Regions from separate parts of the Homo sapiens genome. Here regions 1, 2, 3, 4 and 6 are each linked to region 5. Evidence: promoter capture Hi-C in 16 types of primary human blood cells and fetal thymus (Javierre and others, 2016). All regions are on one chromosome and are shown on one strand. Each heading gives the region's core, a stretch centred on a gene start or on the middle of the fragment in contact. The rest is flanking DNA. Distances are from core to core; before and after follow the strand shown.

Evidence for each region. The method cuts DNA at HindIII sites, captures the fragments that hold promoters and counts their contacts. A CHiCAGO score of 5 or more calls a contact.
Region 1: a fragment that was not itself captured here is called in contact with the fragment with the promoter of TMEM132B in region 5 in 1 of 17 cell types (endothelial precursors); the score reaches 6.1 in endothelial precursors.
Region 2: a contact is called between a fragment that was not itself captured here and the fragment with the promoter of TMEM132B in region 5, in 1 of 17 cell types (endothelial precursors). The highest score is 7.2, in endothelial precursors.
Region 3: a contact is called between a fragment that was not itself captured here and the fragment with the promoter of TMEM132B in region 5, in 1 of 17 cell types (endothelial precursors). The highest score is 9.2, in endothelial precursors.
Region 4: a fragment that was not itself captured here is called in contact with the fragment with the promoter of TMEM132B in region 5 in 1 of 17 cell types (endothelial precursors); the score reaches 5.5 in endothelial precursors.
Region 6: a contact is called between a fragment that was not itself captured here and the fragment with the promoter of TMEM132B in region 5, in 3 of 17 cell types (endothelial precursors, non-activated CD4 T cells and total CD4 T cells). The highest score is 10.4, in endothelial precursors.

The regions. Positions count from the first base shown.
Region 1 is chr12:127,678,552-127,681,792 of GRCh38, forward strand. No RefSeq gene overlaps it. Among named protein-coding and RNA genes, the nearest start is that of LINC02411, 44 kb to the left of the region's middle. The HindIII fragment of the contact is 1,023 bases long and covers 760-1,782 here.
Region 2 is chr12:127,391,585-127,395,180 of GRCh38, forward strand. No RefSeq gene overlaps it. Among named protein-coding and RNA genes, the nearest start is that of LINC02375, 53 kb to the left of the region's middle. The HindIII fragment of the contact is 3,025 bases long and covers 826-3,596 here.
Region 3 is chr12:127,376,115-127,379,514 of GRCh38, forward strand. No RefSeq gene overlaps it. Among named protein-coding and RNA genes, the nearest start is that of LINC02375, 38 kb to the left of the region's middle. The HindIII fragment of the contact is 2,567 bases long and covers 139-2,705 here.
Region 4 is chr12:127,301,447-127,304,592 of GRCh38, forward strand. LOC124903050 (a long non-coding RNA gene) reads right to left here and starts at 2,344. Exons shown (of 3, transcript XR_007063523.1): 1 at 2,064-2,344. The HindIII fragment of the contact is 2,095 bases long and covers 355-2,449 here.
Region 5 is chr12:125,184,778-125,188,116 of GRCh38, forward strand. It overlaps TMEM132B (transmembrane protein 132B), which reads left to right and starts at 1,609. Exons shown (of 9, transcript NM_001366854.1): 1 at 1,609-2,089. The coding sequence starts at 2,023. RefSeq lists an enhancer at 810-1,343 and a silencer at 1,392-1,601. The HindIII fragment of the contact is 2,339 bases long and covers 583-2,921 here.
Region 6 is chr12:128,066,635-128,069,818 of GRCh38, forward strand. No RefSeq gene overlaps it. Among named protein-coding and RNA genes, the nearest start is that of LINC02441, 41 kb to the left of the region's middle. The HindIII fragment of the contact is 3,583 bases long and covers 50-3,184 here.

The sequences.
Region 1 (3,241 bases), core at 21-2,520, 2.5 Mb after region 5:
ATGCAAATTAGCCTGGTTATAGACATTCTTGCCCTGAATTGTAGATGGTGTGTTTAAATTCTCATGCTGAGAACCACCTCAAATCCCCAATTAAAAGAGCTACTAATTATGATAAACTAGACTTAGGAGAGTGGTTACGTCTGAGTGGAGAGGGACAGTTTGGGAAGTTTGGGAAGAGTATCCAGCTGGCTTCAATGGTATTTGTATTTTCTTCTTAAAATCAGCATTGATGTGTTAGTCTAGGTCTTTAGAGAACAGAAAGCAAGTTGGGATTAGACATGCAGGAGTTGTATTAGGAGAAACACTCTTGAGAGAAAATAGGCAGGGAGTCAGGGGAGATGGGAAGAGCCATCCAACCACAAAGCAGGTCCAGTTGTCTGGGAAGGAAAGAGGGGTGGCATGGTGGGCAGGAGAGTCTCAGACAGCTGTGGAGTTTGAAATATTTAGAAAAGTCAGCATGGAAGCCCCAAACCAAAGTCTCCGTCAAAGAAGGCCCAGTCTCTTGGGGTAGTGTGCCTTAGGGAGCCCGTGGGGCATCATGGCTGGGGTCACCCCTGGGAGGTGTGGTCTCAGCACAAACCTAGTGGTGAGGTCCAGAGGGCAGCAGCCTGGGTCACTGGTCCATTGTCGCACTCGGACATCCGAGTCTCCTCTCGCAGACACCACAACCCACCCTCTCCACCTTGCAGCCCTTTGCTTCCCATACATCTTGGGAGCATCTTCTCTGCAGTCCCCACAGGGCCTTCCTTCACGAGAGGAAGCTTAGAAGAGGGACATTTGTGGCAGGAATTATAGCCCCAATAACTGTAGTTGATCTCAGAGCTGCAACTGCATCCTCTCCCTCCTGCACAATCCATTCTGAATCCTGTCACTCTCAGCTATCTCTTGGGCAGGCCTTGGTGTCTCACTGCAGTCTGAGCAGAACCTTTAGGCTGGGGTTGCTGCCTTTGCCCACTCACTGTAACAGTGGGGTGGGGGAGCATCAGGAGGCATCCATGCAGGTCACACGAGCTCCACGTCCACGCCTTCCTGCCCCTGCATAAATGCAGCCCTATGTCACCTCCTGGTAGGTGTCACTAATCAGTAGACACTCTTGCCAATACAGGAGACCCTCTCCTTTCCTGCTGATCCCTGGTGAATTCAGTGGAGTTATAAAAGGGACCACCACAGCCCCCTTTAGACCTTTAATGAATCCATTTATTTTTGCTTTCTCCTGCTTCTCCAACATGAGATTTTTTTTTTAATTTGTTATCTTACCTAGGTAGGTAGTTTCAGAGGTTTCCACTGTGACTTCCTCACTATAAAAATTCTTACCACACAGGACACAGACCCAATATGGAGGTTCCTCCAAACACCAATTGTACCAAATTCAACTGATACTTGGGGACTTCAGAAGTGACCACTGAAGTACATCAAAACATTTTATGCCAAAATATATTTTTTGACATATTTAGAAACGGCCCTGCAAAGCCGTCTTTTGTGGGGGAAATTTGCCTCTGTAGAGAATCTTCAGTAACGCAGCCAGGCCTCCCTTTCCAGGCCTTTCCTGGATCTAACAGAGATTCTAAGAGAGAGTCTGACACCTTTAAAAGTCTGGAAAGAGGCAGCTGCCATCTATTCTGCCTGTGGGATGCTACCTGAGAGGCTTCATTCACATGATAAGGCCACCTTTGCCAGCCAAGACTCTTCCTTTCTCTCTCCTATGACCTGTCTTGCCACTAAAACGTGTTTTTGGCTGTGCTCTGAGCATGCATTCTCTCTGTAACCTCAGGATGGTGTATAAGCTTCTATACCTCACCAGCGGGTTAAGCCTTCATTCTGAAGACCACCGTGTATACATGTTAAATAAATATGCCTTTTCTCCTATTAATCAATCTGCCTCATGTCAGTCATTTCTCAACAGACCTTTAGGGGACCCAGGGCCTTGGCCCACACATCACTTAGTTGGGTCTACACATACAGTGAGCTGACTGTGAGCCAAACTTCATCCAGGGATCCATTTATTACCTGGCACCCACAGGAGCCCTTCTAAGAGGCGAGACACAAAGCATGATGTCTCAGTCGTGATGTCTCAGTCCTGCTTTCCATCACAGCATCTGCTTTTCACGGTGTTGCAAGGTCCTTTGTCTTCCTCTTAGGGTTGTGGCAAGCTCTTCCATCAGTGATGTCAGGACTTGAAAAACGGCTTAAGACTGGACATTGTGTAAGGGATTGTAACTTTTTATGGCGCAACATCCTCAAACTCCTGCTTGCTTCTTCTTGCCTTTTGTTTTTTCTTTTCTTTTCTTTTCTTTTCTTTTCTTTTTTCTCAGACAGAGTCTCACTCTGTAGCCAGGCTGGAGTGCAGTGGCGCAATCTCTGCTCACTGCAACCTCCGACTCCCTGGTTCAAGCAATTCTCCTGCCTCAGCCTCCCGATTGAGATTACAGGCATGTGCCACCATGCTCGGCTTATTTTTGTGTATTTTTAGTAGAGACGGGTTTTCACCATGTTGGCCAGGATGGTCTCGATCTCCTGACCTCATGTTCCACCTGCCTCGGCCTCCCAAAGTGCTGGAATTACAGGCATGAGCCACCACCCTGGGCCTGCCTTTTTAAAGATACAGATGTTAAGTAGCACCCTGGTTGCTGGCCCATCCATTTTGTTTTGAGAAAGGCCATTCTCTGCTATCCATCTCCACAATGCCTTTGGGTCAAACTCCCTCGAATGTCCCTGCACCCTTGCTGAGAGTTTTATGTTGATTGCAGCCTTCTGGCTTGTGGGTTTAAAGTGCAGCCACCTGTGTTACCTCAGGGCTTCCACATCCCTATGGATGTTGATGATCCTGCCCGGGTGATCAAAGAGCCTTCCTATGGTCAGCTCTGGCCTGCAAAGCAGAACTGCCACCGACCCTCTTAGAGACGCCAGTGCTGTCTCTCCATCACATTCCCATGCACATTGCAGCATAAGCCATCGCCTCGGTATCTCCTAGGGGCTTTCTCGAGAAACACGATTTTCTGCTGAGTCATCTGGACTTAGTATATTCATTCCAACACACTGATTTCCCTCAGCCTCTTTTTTCTTACCATCAGCAGTGTTTTTTCTAGGCTTCTAAAAATCTTCCCAGCAGTGAATTCGTCCCAGTATCTGGGACTCTTCTAGGGTGTAAATACCATGAGAGAAAGTGTCTCAAGGCAATGAATGCTCATGTATGCAGTATTGCCATCCTGGCCCTTAAAATCCATCCCCAAAAAGTGAGCAA
Region 2 (3,596 bases), core at 1,088-3,587, 2.2 Mb after region 5:
CTAGAAGGGGTCAGGTGTGAAGTGGCCACACTGCTTGGCTGTTTCTCCCTCAAGCTAGAGCACACAGCCTTCTTCCAAAAGGGCTTTCTTCCCATAAGCCCTGTTTCCCACGTGTGCATAAAAGGACACTCACTTAGGGATTTTAGTCACCCCTTTTCCCACCCACTATGCTCAGACCAAGAGTCTCCTCCCTGTCATAAGAACTCCCCCACATATTCACCTGTTTATCCTGCTTCTTAATGGCAGGAGGCCTAAGGATGCCCTCCTTAGAAAGCCTGCTGGCAAAGCTGATGCTTGGCCCATGTCCAGGAACTCAGATTTCAGGAGGAGGCTTCCCACCATTCCCTCACTATGCCTAATCTCTTTGTGCAAACAATATGGTTCATGCTGAACACTCGTTTTCTCTCTAGGGGTCTGGAATTTTGGAATCCGCTAGGCAGGGGATACCTAGGTGACTGGCCCACAGTAAAAACCCTGGGCACTGAGTTTTAAAGAGCTTCCCTGTGAATAGAACATCTCTCAGCCTACTTTGGTCCTGGCGGGCACACTGGCAGAGAAGGAGCAAGCTGGCATGTGTGATTCCAGCCTCAGGAAGATTGTGGATCAGTTGCTCTGCCATCGCCTTTCTTAGATCGGGGTAAAGCTCAATTCAGGGTGATGGAAACCGGGTCATTCACAATCCTGTGCTGGATGGCTTTTGTTTTAACTCTGTTAGGTGACTTCTTTGACAGTGCAATAGCCTGCAATTTATCATAATTAGGGGCGCCTTGTGTATTAAAATATTAAGAATAGCCCTTGTCTTTTTCACTTATATGGAACCCACCAAGCTTCTTCTCTCCTCCCCCCAAAACACATACAGCATACAATATTAAGGGAGAGGAGGAGGAAAAAGGGAGTATAAATTATGAGGATATCTGGGGAAAGCAGGCTCAGTCTCCTTCAACATGCAAGCGTCCTGCAGTGAGCCTGGGTTGGAAGATGAGGACCTGTCATTTTCTCACTCAGGCTCAGCATCCAGGCACTTCTTAGGATGGGAGCCTCTTTCTACACTGAGTGTGCTCCTAGGCTATTCTGTAGCCTACTAATGGTGTCTATTGTGTAGGCAGCATGGTGCCCAGGCCTACACCAGCTCCACCTGGTATTCAACCCAAGGACTGTGCTCAACCTTGAGGAAGAGCTGGCTGTGTGGACTTACTGATGCTGAATTGGACAGATAAATGTGTCTGTCTTCTGCACCATGTTTTCCTGCATAGGTTTTCATGGATCATTTTGCTTCTAAGCTATCTGTACCCTATGAGCCAATATTAGAACACAGGATGCACACCACCACACCAAAATGCAACTCCACTGTAAAAAAGATAAAAGTATGGCTATTCTGTTGAATCTTAGGGAAGGAGACTTGTGTCTATGCCTTCTTGGCACTTCCTTTATTCCAATAGGGTCCCCCAGTGCATTTTCCTGCATTATATGGTCTTATGGAATTCAGTATGAAAACCATGGGCTGACCAATCTTAAACTAAACCTTGTATGCTAATATCTTCAAAGCCCTCTGATTTAGGTCATTATCCCATCTTCTCTACTTATGTAGTCTTCATCTTTCTTAATAACAGCTCTCAGGCCAGTCCAGCCCACCTCTTTGGTAAGCAGCCCCAAAGCACCCTTGACTTCACTTCACTTCCCAAATAAGCATCATAATTATAATATAATAATAATAATAATTATTATTATTATTTTTGAGACAGAGTCTTGCTCTGTCACCCAGCCTGGAGTGCAATGGCATGATCTCGGCTCGCGGGTTCAAGCAGTTCTCCTGCCTCAGCCTCCTGAGTAGCTGAGATTACAGGTGCCTGCCACCACGCCTGGCTAATGTTTGTATTTTTAGTAAAGATGGGGTTTCACCACCTTGGCCAGACTGGTCTCGAACTCCTGACCTCAGGTGATCCATCTGCCTCGGCCTCCCAATGAGCATCATGTTTAAGATAACTTGATCAATCTCTGACTTCCCCCAGTAGACAATAACTCCTTGAGGACTAGATTATGTGTGTATTGCTCCCTGCACCATCTGTAGTGGCTGGCATGGTGCCTGGCAAAGTGTAGGAATCCTCTAATCAGTGTTTGTTTAATTCATCGAGTATACTCAAAGATCTGACAGGATACTCTGTGACATTCTGGGGACGTAATTTGCATTCTGGGAGACAAGAAATGACTAGTTGATTGAGTCTTGAGCCATATCCTCACACCTAGCTGGTAAGTATATTTATATACACTTGGCTTCATGGAAAACGCATCTATCTCTCTTAATAAAACATTAGTTCCCAACTGGGAGCCATCTGAACCCCCAGGGAACATTGGACAATACTTGGAGACAAATTTGTTTATCACAAACTGGGTGATGCTTCTGGTATCTAGCAAGTAGAGGCCAGAGATGCTGCTCAACATCCCATAACACAGCACAGCCATCTCTCCAACACCCACGATAATGTTCTGGCCCAAAATGTGAGTCATGCCAACGCTAAGAAACTCTGCATAATGCAGTAAGCATTTTAAAGGCCAAGCCTGTTATTAACAGCTTAGTCACCCCAGGGGCTAGCACAGTCACTGGCATATTTATCTACAGGGTACTATTTATTTGTTGAGTACCTACTAAATGCCAGAAAATGGGAATTCAGAGGCAAACAAAACAGACAAGTCTCCCTTGCCTTTAATAGGTATTAATAAATAAAATCATGCCAAGTAAAATATAATTGCTATAATAAAAGTCCAACAGAGCAGTTTAATTTTTAGAGAGTTAAATAGAAAATTAAAACCACAATGAGATACCAACACACACTTATGCTTAAAATTAAAAAGTAACAAAATGCCAGTTGCAGTGGCTCACACTTATAATGCCAACATTTTAAGAGGCTGAGGCGAGAGGACCACTTGAGCTCAGGTGTTTGAGATCAGCCTGGACAACATAGCAAGACCTTATCTCCACAAAATAATAATAATAAAAAAAAAGCTGAGTGTGGCAGCACATCCTATAGTTCCAGCTACTTGGTGGGGCTGAGGTGGGAGGATCGCTGGAGTCTAGGATTTCAAGGCTGTAGTGAGTGGTGATCATGCCACTGCACTCTAGCTGGGGTGACCGAGTTAGACTGTTTCTCAAAAAAAAAAAAAAATTAATAATAATAATAATACCAAATGCTGGGGAGAATGCAAAGAAAGTAGATCCCTTATAGACCTGTACATGAATGATTAGAGTAGTCTTATTTGTAATAGTCCCAGACTAGAAACAAACCAATGTTCTTTACGGCTAAATATTTAAACAATCTGCACCAGAGAAGCTAAGAAACAAAAAGAAACACCCTATTGAGGCATGTACCATCCTGGATGGACCTCAAAGGAATTACAATGAATGGAAAAAAAAAAAAAAGACCATCTCAAAAGGTTTCATACTATCTGATTCTTCTTACATAACATTCTTAAAATGACACAAACATAGGGATGAAGAAAAAATTAGGGTTTGCCAAGGGTTAGGGAGGAAGCTGGGAGGGAGAGGAGTGGTTGTAGCTATGAAAGGAGAAAGAAAATGTTCTGAATCTTGAGTATGAGGG
Region 3 (3,400 bases), core at 172-2,671, 2.2 Mb after region 5:
TTGAACAAGCAGATATCCACATGCAAAAACATAAATTAAATAAAATAAAAACCTCAATAAACAACTTAATTCTTAAACGTTGCACAAAATCTTCCTCAAAAGGGTTCACAGATCTATAAATAATATGAAGAATTATAAAGCTTTTAAGAGAAAATTTATTGCGGCCTGGGGTTATAATAAAGGGTTTTATTTCTTTGGCATAACACCAAATACATGATCCATAAAAGAAAAATTCAGTAAATTAGACTTTGTGAAAACTAAAATCTTTTGCTCTGCGGAAGAAACTATAAAGAAAATGAAAATACAAGCTATAGACTGAAATAACATATTTGTAAATTGCATATCCAACTAAGGCTTTAACATTTAAAATGTATAAACAATTCACAAAACTCAATAATAAGCAATCTAACAGCCTGATTAAAACATAGGCAAAAGACTTGAACATTTCACCAAAGAATACATTCACATAGCAAAAAAGCAAATGAAGCCGGGCGAGGTGGCTCACGCCTGTAATCCCAGCACTTTGGGAGGCCGAGGCGGGGGGGGGATCACGAGGTCAGGAGATCGAGACCATCCTGGCCAACAGGGTGAAACCCCGTCGCTACTAAAAATACAAAAAAAAATTAGCTGGGCGTGGTAGCAGGCGCCTGTAGTCCCAGCTACTCCAGAGGCTGAGGCGGGAGAATGGCGTGAACCTGAGAGGCGGAGCTTGCAGTGAGCCAAGATCACGCTACTGCATTCCAGCCGGGGGGAACATGCGAGACTGTCTCAAAAAAAAAAAAAAGCAAATGAAAAAATGTTCAACATCATTAGCTCTTAGGAAAATGCAAGTTAAAACCACAGTGATATACCCCTACATACCTATTAGAATTACACATTGCACATTGTCCAGTGCTGGTGATGATACGAAGCAACTGAATCTCTCAGGTATTGCTGGTGTGAACGCAAAATGATACAACTAGTCTGCAAAACATCTGACACTTTCTTATACAGTTAAACTCATCGCATGGCCCAACATGTGTACCCCATTAACTTAGCCCATATAAATAAAAAGGTATGTCCACAGAAGTGTGTACACAATTGTTCATAGCAACTTTGTTTGCAAGAACTTAAAACCCTAAACAATTCAAATGCCCTTCAGTGGCCAAGAGATGACTTGTGTGACATCTATAAATGGAATAGTATTGAGAAACACAATAACTTGGATAGATCTCAATGACCATTATGCTGAATGGGGAAAGATTCAAAATACACTTACGATATTATTTTATTGCTAGAACATTCTCAAAATGACAAATTATAGTGTGGAGGACCTATGAGGGGTTGTCAGGCATTAGGGTTATGTGGAAGGGATGACTATGAATTGCTGCCTCCCTGTATTTATATCTGATTGTGGTGACAGTTATGTGACACTGTGCATGCAGAAAAAATATAATAGAACTTTACACCAAACCAAACAAAACCCAACAAAACAAAGCCACAACACAGTGCACTGAAAAATTTATGACATTATAAAAAGTCTATAAGTTATCAATATCAATTTTCTGATCTTGAAAATTGTGCTGTGGTTATACAAAATCTTATCATTGGGATAAGCCAGTTAAAGGGTACAGGGGACCCCTCTATCCTGTTCGTGTAACTAAATACAGTCTAAGTTATTTCAAAATAAAAAGTTAAAAATAAATGAATAGATACAAATTTAGACACAATTTAGTCTCACGAAGAAATTTTTCTTAATTGTCTATCCAAGAGAAAATAAAAAACATCAGCACAACTTCTTGTACACTAATATTTATAGAAGTATTAATTAGAAGAGGCAAAAAATAGGAAAATAATGCCCATCAACTGATGAACTGATAAGCATATATGATATTTACACACATTAGCATAGACAGCAAGAAACAGCATTGAGTTCTTATGCATGCTACAACATGGGTGAACCTCAAAAATATTACATTAGGTGAAAGAAACTAGATACAAAATACCACATATTGCAAGATTCCATTTATATAAAAGACCCAGAGAAGACAAGTCTGTAGAGACAGAAATGAGATTCATGGGGCAAAATGAGCAAGGAAGACAAACAGGCATACAAGATTTTCTGGGGATGATGGAGATTTCCTGGAACTGGATGGTGGTGACGGTTGCACAGCCCTGTACCCTTAGTAAAAATCATTTAATCGTACATGTAAAGAGGTGAATTTTATGGTGTATGGATTACGACAATAAGGTGCTTTAAAAAATATTAATAGAAAAGCAAATGCATGTGAGATTAGTGGACATGCACTGCAGAGCCTAACTCCTGCCTGGTGCCCAGGAGGTGTTCACCAAGCGGCACCTGTTTTACGTGGCTTCAAAGCCACATTTAGTATTAAAAAATTGGTATAAAAGAAGACTGGACTCTTCTCCATAAAGTACTGGACACAACTGAAGCTCCTCTCCTCTGCTGAGAGGGTGGGACCTTATAGCCATCACTGGCCAAAGAGGACATTTTCCAGAGTCCAAGGTGGTTCTGGGGAAAGTGAGAAATGTCTCCCCCAAGGTCCACAGTGACCCCTCTCTCGGTCTTTTCTAAATGCTCTTGCTTCTTATCTGTCTCAGGAAAGAGCCCAGCAGCTTTTCCAACTGAGTCTAAATGCATAAAGGCATGATTACTCCACCCCAGGAGCTCAGAGTTTATACTTGGTATTTACTCACGGTGTTTAAGCTTGGTATTTAATCATGGAATAGAATTCTTCCTCCTTCGTGAAAGGAATTTTACAAAAAAAAAAAAAAAAAAAATAGGAGAACTCTGTTCCTTGGCAGAAAACCTTGCTGACATCCCTGATGGCAAGAACTGGGCCTCCCTCATCCAATGCCAGCTTTCAGCCCAGTGTCAGCACACAGGCCCTCGGTGAAGGTGTGTGTAAAGAATGACTGCCATCAATACCTTAACTCTCAGCAGCATTTCACAGTTTGAAAGAACGTGAGGAACACTACGGACTAATCACTGCATCTCATCTGTCCTCTAGATCACATTGAAATGAGAATAAATGAACAGAAAGTTGTGATCTCGCAACAACATAGGGCTATCAGCAGATAAAAGATGCCAATCATCTCTGAGGATGGAAAGAATCAGATGGCCTGTTAGTGACCAACGGAACGAGAAAGAGAAGCCTAGCATAGTTCCCCAGCAGAGAAACAACGATAGCAGAAGGGGGGAATTAGGATCTATAAGAGGTTACCCATGTCACAAACTCGGCCACGAAAAAAATGACAAAACTAACGAATATCTAACAGGAGAAGTGGGTGAAGTCTCAGAGTGCCATTTCTTGCACTTGCAAAACAGGAAGTCAATCCTACGGGCTAAAATTGTGTCATGAAAGGAACAGAAAGGAGAGGTTACGGCGGTGGAGGTGCT
Region 4 (3,146 bases), core at 152-2,651, 2.1 Mb after region 5:
GTTTCACGCGATTGAGATGAAGATTAAAATGTTGATAATTCTACTGAATTGGCACGTGTGTTTGCACATGTGCATATCTGTACACACACAGAGAGAAATTCATGGGTCAGACTCTGCTCCCAAGGAGAAACGTGCAATTTCCACAGAAAATCTTTGCATGGCAAATAATCCTGAACTACATTCTATTATTTGCTCACATTTAAATCTGGCTGTTTACCCAATTATCCATGTCTGATATTGGGCTATAGCTCTGAGCCAAAGAAGACTGTTTTCAACCACTTTGATTTTCACCCAGCAGTAACAAGCGGCATGCTGTGGTGGGCTGGATTCTAAGTTGCCCTCAAGAATGACACAAGCTTAAACCACAGGTAGCAAAGGGAATTTCTTCTTTCCCTGAGACCTAATTCATTACCCTATATCATTGCAACTTGATTAGTATTTACCCAATAGAATGAAAGTGTGTTGATTTCTGAATCACTAAAAGCTGATGTCATTAAATTAGGCATGATACTTAAAACATTAAATTCATTATCATCTAGCGTCTTATATTTATAAAGTATAACTAAGGATATATTTGCATGTGTAAAGAATCTGTCACTATTAGTTCTCTATGCCAGGAAAGGCAGCTGTCTTATTATTTCTGAGCCTGAACATTAAGACAGTAGGGCAAGGGGAAGAGAGGAAAGAATAAATGGAACATTTCTGCCTGCTTAATGCCAGAGAAATATATAAAGTGGTGAATACATGGGTAGCCTAACAAGGAAGAAACACACATCCATCACTTGGGATGCATTTTTAATCTTGGAGTGGCTTTAAGAAGTTCACCCTCTCTGCTGCCAATTCAGGCAATAGATTAAAGGTCACTTTAAAATGCCTCAACGTTAACGGCAATCATTGCAGAAATGCCAAATATCATTATCTGACTGCAAAATTACCTAGCTGGAATTGCTACATTATTTCTCTAGATAATGCCCTCCAAATGTTTTTGATTGTTTATACCTGACAATAAAGAACTACTTCTGTATGCATCTGTGATATGGAGGCCATTACACCAGCTTGCCAAATATTTTCAGATTTCCCTCTTCTTGGGCACACAGTAGAAACATAATTCTAGGTCTTGTCTTTGAGCGAAGCCATTAGCTAGTTCTGGCCAATGAGTGTGGGCAAACATGGCATGTGCTGTCAGGAAGGGGGACCCACAGTGGGCAGGCAACACTCACAACTGCATTTATCACAGCTGCTCCTTACAGCATGGTCCAAGCCATCACTATCAGACCCTCACTCAGAGCTCTTGACCTCATCACCACCAGCTCCCCTGGTGCTAACTCTGGGACAGTCATCATTTAAGGCATTGGGTGCATGCTGTCCTTATTGCTCTACCCCAAATAGGTCAGGCACACTCCTTGATTAGGGCCTTTACTTTTGCTGCTATCTCAACCTGGGATATTCCTTTCCCCCAGGACCCAAGCCCTCCAAGCTCATTTCTTTTAGGTTCAAGCTCAAACATCAGCTTATCCATGAGACCCATGCTTATATTGTCTTTTCAAATAACAGTTGCCACTAATAGGTACTCGCTATGCACCTTCTGTGTTATTTTCCCCATAATACTTTAACCTACCTGACCAGCTATATTCTCCTTCATTGGTTCTTTGCATTCTTGTCCCCTTCCCCCTCGCCCCACACACCTGCCCCATCCCACACATACACATAATATTATATAAGCTCCTTGGGAGCAGGAACTGTGCGTGCTATTTTAACATCATATTCCCAATGTCTAAAACAATGACTGTCCCAGAGTTGGCACTCAAAAACGTTTGTTAATGAGCTTAATACAATATGTTACGTTAGGGTTTTTGTTAAATAAGTACAATGCAGCTGCTCTCGTCACAGAAAAACTAACTGTGAGATAAGAGATATGTTCACAGACTTCACTCTAGAAACCATTTTACTCTCTGTATATATCCCACAGCATCATGTTGCAAACCTGTAAACCTCAAATGTACCCAATAAAATTTATTTAAAAATATTTGTTTAGAGGAAGAATGAGTAAATACAACACTTACCGAACTCATATGCAGATAGGACTATCTGGCCTCCCTTTCTCTGCCCAAATATGTATCTGAAGATGACCCAGAAGCAATGTTCTACACCTTCATGTGAATTTCTGTTGCTTTACTCACATCATCTCCTCTAAGAGGCAAGTGGAGTTGGTCAATGTCAAAGAAATTGCATCCTTCATGAGATTCTAGGAGTCTGAGGCATAAGAAACAGCTTCCTAAAAGCATTTTGGAAAAAATAAGGCTTTTGTTATTGTTGTTGTTGCTGTTATTGTTTTTTATTTCTTTTTCCTCTGGCCACCTTGTGTGGTCCTGTCTGCAGATTATAACAATAAACACTGGCATTGTTAATGTCAGCTGAGGGGTCCACACTCCAACGTGGGAGCAAAACAAGCTTCCATTTGTGAGCCATGCCCATTTTGGCCCAAACAGTCATGTATTATAGCAGCAATCTCACCAGATTGTGGATAGTTTGAAGTTGCAAAAAGCTTAAAGCCACTTTTATATAATTTGCCAATTTTCTCCCATTTTATTTCCTCTATTTTCTGATGAGAAATCAATCTTCTCTAAAGAAAACAAATACATTATGTTTTACTATGAAGTCAAGGTCTTAGGTTATTCTCTCAACTTGAGGTATTTGTTGTTTGGATTTTTTTAAAAAAACAGAGTACATTTATTTCTTAATCAAGGGTTGACATAAGCACAAGGTCTGCGTGTTTGGAAGATGCTGGGCCTGTTTACCCTCTTTTATCAGTCGGGGTGGAACTCATACCTCACCCCCTACCCCCACCACCACCTACCACCTTCTGGCGCCCAGTTCAGCTCAGAGGGTCCCTCCATAATTGGGGTCGTTTGGAGTGAGAATAATGGATATAATCACCAGCAGGGGTTTCTCATCTGGATACTGGTCTTGATCTATAACAGTAATACAGCTTCAGTCAACTTCCAAGCTGGCTGCACTGCTGTGTGGCTTTACACCAGTGGCTTCACCTCTTTGAACTTCCATTGCCTCCTTTACAAATGGCCATGATAAAACCAGCTTGTAGGTCATTGTCACAATAACCTATAAAGTTTGCAAATCACTGATGC
Region 5 (3,339 bases), core at 359-2,858:
AGAACTGAGTGCTGCCTCTGCTAATGAGCTTGTCTGTACTAATCAAGCAGGTGCCCTGTCCCCCATCCCCTCTTGGCAGCCGGGAGTGGGGAGGATTGTCCTTCTGATGTGAGCTCTGGGCCCGCAGAGGAAAATCAGATCTATCATAATAATGGCCATGATGATGAGAATGATAATGTTGACACTGACTCCTTTAAATGAGTTCCGACTTCCTAGGTCAGGGGCTTTGTATGTGTTATTGGGGACACCAGGTGATGTGCAATGCCTTCCATCTCTCAGATGAGAAAACTGAGGCTCAGGGAGGAATAAGGGACTCGCCCCAGCTTGCACAGCTAAGGAGCGGCAGAGCTGGGATTCTCAGCCAAGACTCCATGACTCCAGAGCCTTCCCCAAATCTGTCTTTTCATCACCCCACGCTGCCTTATTGACCATTTTCAAAGAGTTTGACCCACTTTTTCATGGAAAACTGAGATGGCAGAGCAAGTGGCTGGTGTGGTGGGGGCTGGGGCGGAGCCAGGACTCCAAGCCACCCTCCCAGGTGGGCAACCCCCCATATCCCCTGTCCTCCCAGCGTGGTGGGGAAGCTTGAAGGCATCTGAGCGCTGCTGGAGGCTCCCCCACATGCTCCCAGCATGACTCATTCATTCGGCTTAGCCCCCCGTGGCTTTGCCCTGGTTGGGGGTGGGGCGCCCAGGAGGATCAGTGGTTTCTGGGATAATAGGTACTGGGGCTCCGTGTGACCTGTGACCTCCCTCCGCACTCTGGCTGCGTCCCTGCCCCTGGATGGAAGAATTCGACCACCTAGTACCCGGCCCTGCGCAACACCTCCGCTCCGTCACTGCCTGACCCTGCGCTGGGAACTCATTCCCGGGACCGCCAGGGAATCTGCCCTTCCCAGGAGAACTCCTGGCTGCCTCCGCGTGCTCCTAGGGCCTGCGCGAAATGGGAAGGCGCATCCTCTAGCCTGGGTAAATAAGGGACCCTGCCTCACCCGGGTGGCCATCCCCAGGCCGCCTTCGCTGTGTTTCAGGTCACCGCACCCAGCCTGCGCACCCCTAGCCCCCATCCCGGTGCCGTGCAGAGGCTCTGCACACAGCCTCGGCCTCCCGGAGGCCCTCCCCTCTCTCCTCTCCCCTCTCCCACAGGCACTCCCTAGCTGTGCCACATTTAACCCGGGACCTCCTGTCCGCGCTCAGTCTTGCAGTCTCTGGCCCCGGCAGACACCACCTCTCCAGAGGTCGCTGCCCCATCCCGGTGACCCTCCGCTGGCCTCCTCACCCCTCGACCTTGGCAACTCCTACCGCTGCGCCCCAAGACGCCGGATCTAGCTGGGCATCCCCTCTCTGCATTGCGCACCCCTCCCGCAGCCCCTGTACCCGCGAGCGCCCGCGACCCCCGGCGGGCTCCCGGAGCCTCCCGGCCGGGCGCCCTCCCCCGAACCGCCGAGCAGTGGCGCGTCCCGCCGCCTACTGGCCGGGCTGCCGCCTGTGCCCCGGCTCCCGGGCGGCCCCTCCCCCGGCCGCGGCCCCGCCCTCCGCTCCTCTCCTCCTCCTCCTCCTCCTACTCCTCCTCCTCCTCCTCCTCCCCCCGGCGCTCGCTCGCTCGCTCACTCTCTCGCTGGCTCGAGGGGCGGCCGGCAGATGGCGATGGCAGAGGCGGCGGCGGCGGCGGCGGCGCGACCGGGATGGGACGGGCGCTGGGGCGCAGGAGCCGCGGCGGCGGCGGCGGCGGGGGCCGCGCAACTCGGGCCAACTGCGGGGCAGCCGGCCAGGGCGCGGGGCGCTGAGCCTCGGCCGCCCCAGCTCCCCAGCCACGCACGGCCGAGCCCAGGAGAGCGCGCAGAGGCGCAGCCGAGGAAGCGCCGCCAGCGCCGGCGCATGCGTCTGGGGAGGAGCGGCGCGCTGGGAGCGAGCCATGCCCGGCGCCCGGGCGTAGCCGCCGGGGGCTGCTCCGGGAGCCGCGGGCCGGGCCGGGCGCGCGAGAGGAGCAGCCCCGCGCCGCACCCACCGCGCGCCGAGGACCATGCCGCCCCCGGGCCGGGCGCCGCCGCTCGGGCTCCTGCTGGCGCTGACTGCGCTCCAGTGCCCAGGTAACGCGTCCCCGGACCCCATCCCCGACCCCGGCCGAGGCGCACAAAGTTGGGTGAACGGGCGGCTACCTCCTTCTCAAGTCCCTGGCAGCGCGCATCTCCCGGACTTGGACAGACCTGGGGAGACCCTGGGAACCCAGGAGCCCCCGGCGCGTTCCCCTTTGCCTAGCGCCTGGGGAGAGCCCGCCTGCCTTCTCCCCCAAACCCTTAGCTTCCTTGCGGATCCTTTCGGGACGCACGGGGGCCACAGACCGGGGCACTCAGCCTCTCGAGGCGGGTGGGGACGCGACTGCAGGAATCGAGCCCCCTCCCCGCCCTGCCTTGGGCCAAATCCCCCCCAGGTCCCAGTTCCTCCAGGGGTTTTGCTGGGCGGGGGCGTCGACGCAGCCCTTCTCCAGTGTCTTGCTGCCCGCGGTCGCACAGTGGTGCGTTCCCGGGACACCTGCGGGCCCCGGAGATGTCTCGGCCGGCGCTGTCTGGCTTGTCCGCAGCCCCTCCCCACGCCCCGCGGCCCTCCCCTGCTTTCACACTGCCCTCCCCAAGCTACCCACCCTCGCCAAATGGCCTCCTCTTGGCCAAAGAGCAGCCCGCTGCGCGCCTCCTGCAAACGCGGTCTACTCCAGCGCCCTGACCCCAAGGCGGGCGGGAGAGGGTAGCCGCGGCCAAGCAGTCCAGGACGCGCCGGGGAGCCTGGAACGCGGTGCTGTCCAGAGCCATTGCCTGGGCACCGGGGAGCTGGACTCCCTGCTGAACCAGCTCAGCTGTCGCCCAATCCTAGTGAGTGGGAAAAGCAAAATAGTCAGGTATTGTCTGTCTTCGCTGGAGTTTGGAAAGCTTTCTACCCACCTTGGTGTGGCTACATGTTGGTTCTATAGAAAGCGTATCCTAAAATGACAATTCCTCCCCTCCCCCCACCCCATGCAAGCAGTGGAGAAAATCCTAAAGGCTCAGATGAACCCCGGGAACAGTCACGAGCAGCCTTCATGTGCTTTTGAAATCTCAGTTCTCCAAACCTTTTAAAATCAAGACCCATGATTTGGGAACAGGTAGCTTTTGCTTTAGAAAATCTCTCCCCATTTCCTTAACAAACAAATCGCACAGACAGGCAGAATGCAGTAGAAAAATACAACTATAACTTTTCGGCTTTCACTGTCTTGGTAAGGTTGCAGTTAGGAGCAAACCTGGCATGTCAACTTGATGTTCGATGTATTTTATTTGCATGGAAAAAGTCAGTGTCGGCTTCCTTTGAG
Region 6 (3,184 bases), core at 591-3,090, 2.9 Mb after region 5:
TATAAGAGGAAGATTAAGACTGTGGTCTCATAAGAGAAAGAGAAAAGGAAGCTTCTCTCTTTCTCCTCTCTCTCTCTCTCTTTCTCCCCTCTCCCATGCCCTCTTATCCCCACGTGAGGATACAGTGAGAAGGCACCATCTATAAGCCAGGAAGAGAGCCTTCAGCAGAACCCGCCCATGCTGGCACCTTGATCTCAGATCCTCAGCCTCCAGAAGTGTGAGGAAATAAATTTCTGTTGCTTTGTCCACCGAGTCCGTTGTGTTTTGTTTAGCAGCCTGTGCAGACTAAGACAGCAATTCAGATTGTGGTCATTTGTTTTGGAAGCACAGGAAACTAATATAATCAGATTGTCAAAGTTTATGGAGAACCGTAGGCATTGTTATGATGTCTGAAGTGGAGATGGCATATTCAAATGTTGATTCATATCCAACACTCACTCACCTGGACACAGATTGGGAGGAGAAAAGTTTATTCTTCTCTGAGATTACAGGGAAAAGTGCCCTTTTTCTTCACGGGAAAACAAATTCCCAGAAGGTTTTTTTTTTTTTAGAAAATGTCTCCCTCTGTCACCCAGGCTGGAGTGCAGTGGCACCATCTGGGCTCACTGTAAACTCCACCTCCTAGGTTCAAGTGATCCTACCACTTCAGCCTCCCGAGTAGCTGGGATTACAGGCATGTGCCACCATGCCCAGCTAATTTTTGTATTTTTAGTAGAGACGGGGTTTCGCCATGTTGGCCAGGCTGGTCTCGAACTCCTGACCTCAAGTGATCCTCCCGCCTTGGCCTCCCAAAGTGCTGGGGTTACAGGCATAAGCCACCATGCCCAGCCTCCAGAAGTGTTTTCTTAATATATGTTTTCAGCACAGGTACAGCTTAATCCTCTTTTTTTGGCTCTTGACCTCATCAGTGGAGAGGAACCATAGGAGACAGGGAACAGGGTTCTCTCCAGCAATCCATGGAAATGAAGAGTGACTGAAGGCAAAGCTCTCTGCTAGCAGGGGGGTCGTCCTCCACCTTCTCAGAGCCCCAAACATGCAAGTAACAGCCTCTGCTCTTCCCGGATCTGCGGGGACCATCTTTAAATGACAGCTCTGGTGTGGAGTGACTGGATGTATGCTGGTGGGAGGGGTGTGGGAATATCCAAACTCAGAGGTAAGAAAAGGGAGAAAAAATCTCTCCTCTCATTGGAGCCAAAGCAGAAGGTGAAAAGGTGCATTGGCGAGACTGTAACATAAGGAAAGGAAGGAGGAAGAGAAGGAAGGAAGAAAGGAGCAAGGAGGCAGAGAAAGGAGGCAAGAAAGGGTGGAAATTTTATGGCTGATCTCTCAAGGGGATATTTTAGTCCCTTTGGCAGGGAACAAACATAAAATCAAAGAATAATTTTCTCCTGGGTATACTAATTATGTGAAATGCATCGTCTCTAAAGGCTGCACCGCTAAAATTAGAAATAGAGGCATCAACAGACTTGCCCTTACAAATAGAGTCATCAATAGACTTGGCCTAATAAAGCCCCACAAACTGGGGGTCTTGAAACCACAGAAGTTCCTTGCCTCACCATTCTGGCGGCTGGAAATCCAGTATCAAGGCCGTGGGGCCACATTCCCTCTGCAGGCAGGTGCTAGGGAAGGATATACTCCCTACCTCTCTACCAGCTTCCAGTGGTCACTTTGCTTGCGGCAGCAGAACTCCAGTTTCACAGGGCGCTCTTCCTGTGTGCATGCCGGTCTCTGTGAATAAATGTTCCCTTTTGGTAGAGATGCCAATCATACTGGATTAGGGCCCAGCCTAGTGACCTTATTTTAACTTGATCATCTGCTGCCTCAGTCCAGGCTGCTAGAATAAATGTCCTAGACCGGGTGGCTAAAACAACAAATGTTCATTTCTCACAGTTCTGGAAGCTGGAAGTCCAAGATCAAGGTGCTGGCTGATTCAGTTCCTGGTAAGAACTTACTAAGACTTCCTGATTTGCAGACAGATCCTTCTTTCCTATGTCCTCACGTGGTGGAGAGCTAGATCATGTCTCTCATATATCTTCTCATTAGGGCACTAACACCCGTCATGTCGGCTCCGCCCTCATGACCTGACCACCTTCCAAAGGCCCCACTTCCTACCACCATCACATTAGAAATGAGGAGCTTTAACATATAAATTTTAGGAGGTCACATTCAGCCCATAACACTGGCATAGACCCTGTTTCCAGGTAAAGTCACATTGACATGTACTGAGGGTTAATTCTTCAGCATCTTGTATGGAGTACAATTCAACCCATAATAAGTACTGAACTCTACAAGGTATATCTTTATTCTGTGATTTTTTTTTTGAGACACAGTCTTGCTCCGTCACCCAGGCTGGAGTGCAATCATGGCTCACTGAATCCTCGACCTCCCAGGCTCAAGTGATCCTCCTGTCCCAGCCTCCCGAGTGCTTAGGACCACAGGCCCCCACTACTACGCCCAGCTAATTTTTAATTACTTTGTTTTGTAGAGATGGGGGGTCTCACTATGTCACCCAGGCTGGTGTCAAATGGAAAAAAAATAATATATACTCTTAAACATATAGCTTTCTGATATTAAGTTCAATTACTTAAATAAATTATATTAAATAAAATGTTGAAAATTAACAGCACTCCGAAAACTCTAAGTGGAATAGAATGAGGACAGGATCGAGGGTCTGGTGGTTTTAAGTCCACAACCTAAGATTCGTGTGGCCTCCAGCAGCTCAGTCAACCTAGGAACCTTCCCTTCTTTGTTAACGAAATGGAAATAACACTATTTCGCAAAGCTGCTGTGAAGATTAAACGTGGATAACGTGCCTAAAAAGTCTATGATATGGTAAACCACAGTATAACATTCCTACAATTCATAATATTACTAATCACATATTCACACTATTGATATTCCTCATAAACTGGAACTAGTAATGCTGAGGTCGGCTAGTGGTTCGAGCTCTAAGATAAAGGCATTGACTGCCACCTGGTGGCAGCGTACTGTAGTGTCAATTCTTCAACTTTCTCGCCAAGGTAAATCACCTGGTGATGATTGCTTCGTCTCCAATTCCAAACAGAAAAAATGAGAATCCATCATCGTGTAACTCCACAATTGAACCTATTAAATGTAAGTTCCAGATGTTAAGGCTATATGCTTAAGATCAAAGAAGATTTGGAGAAGGGAGTTTACCTTATTC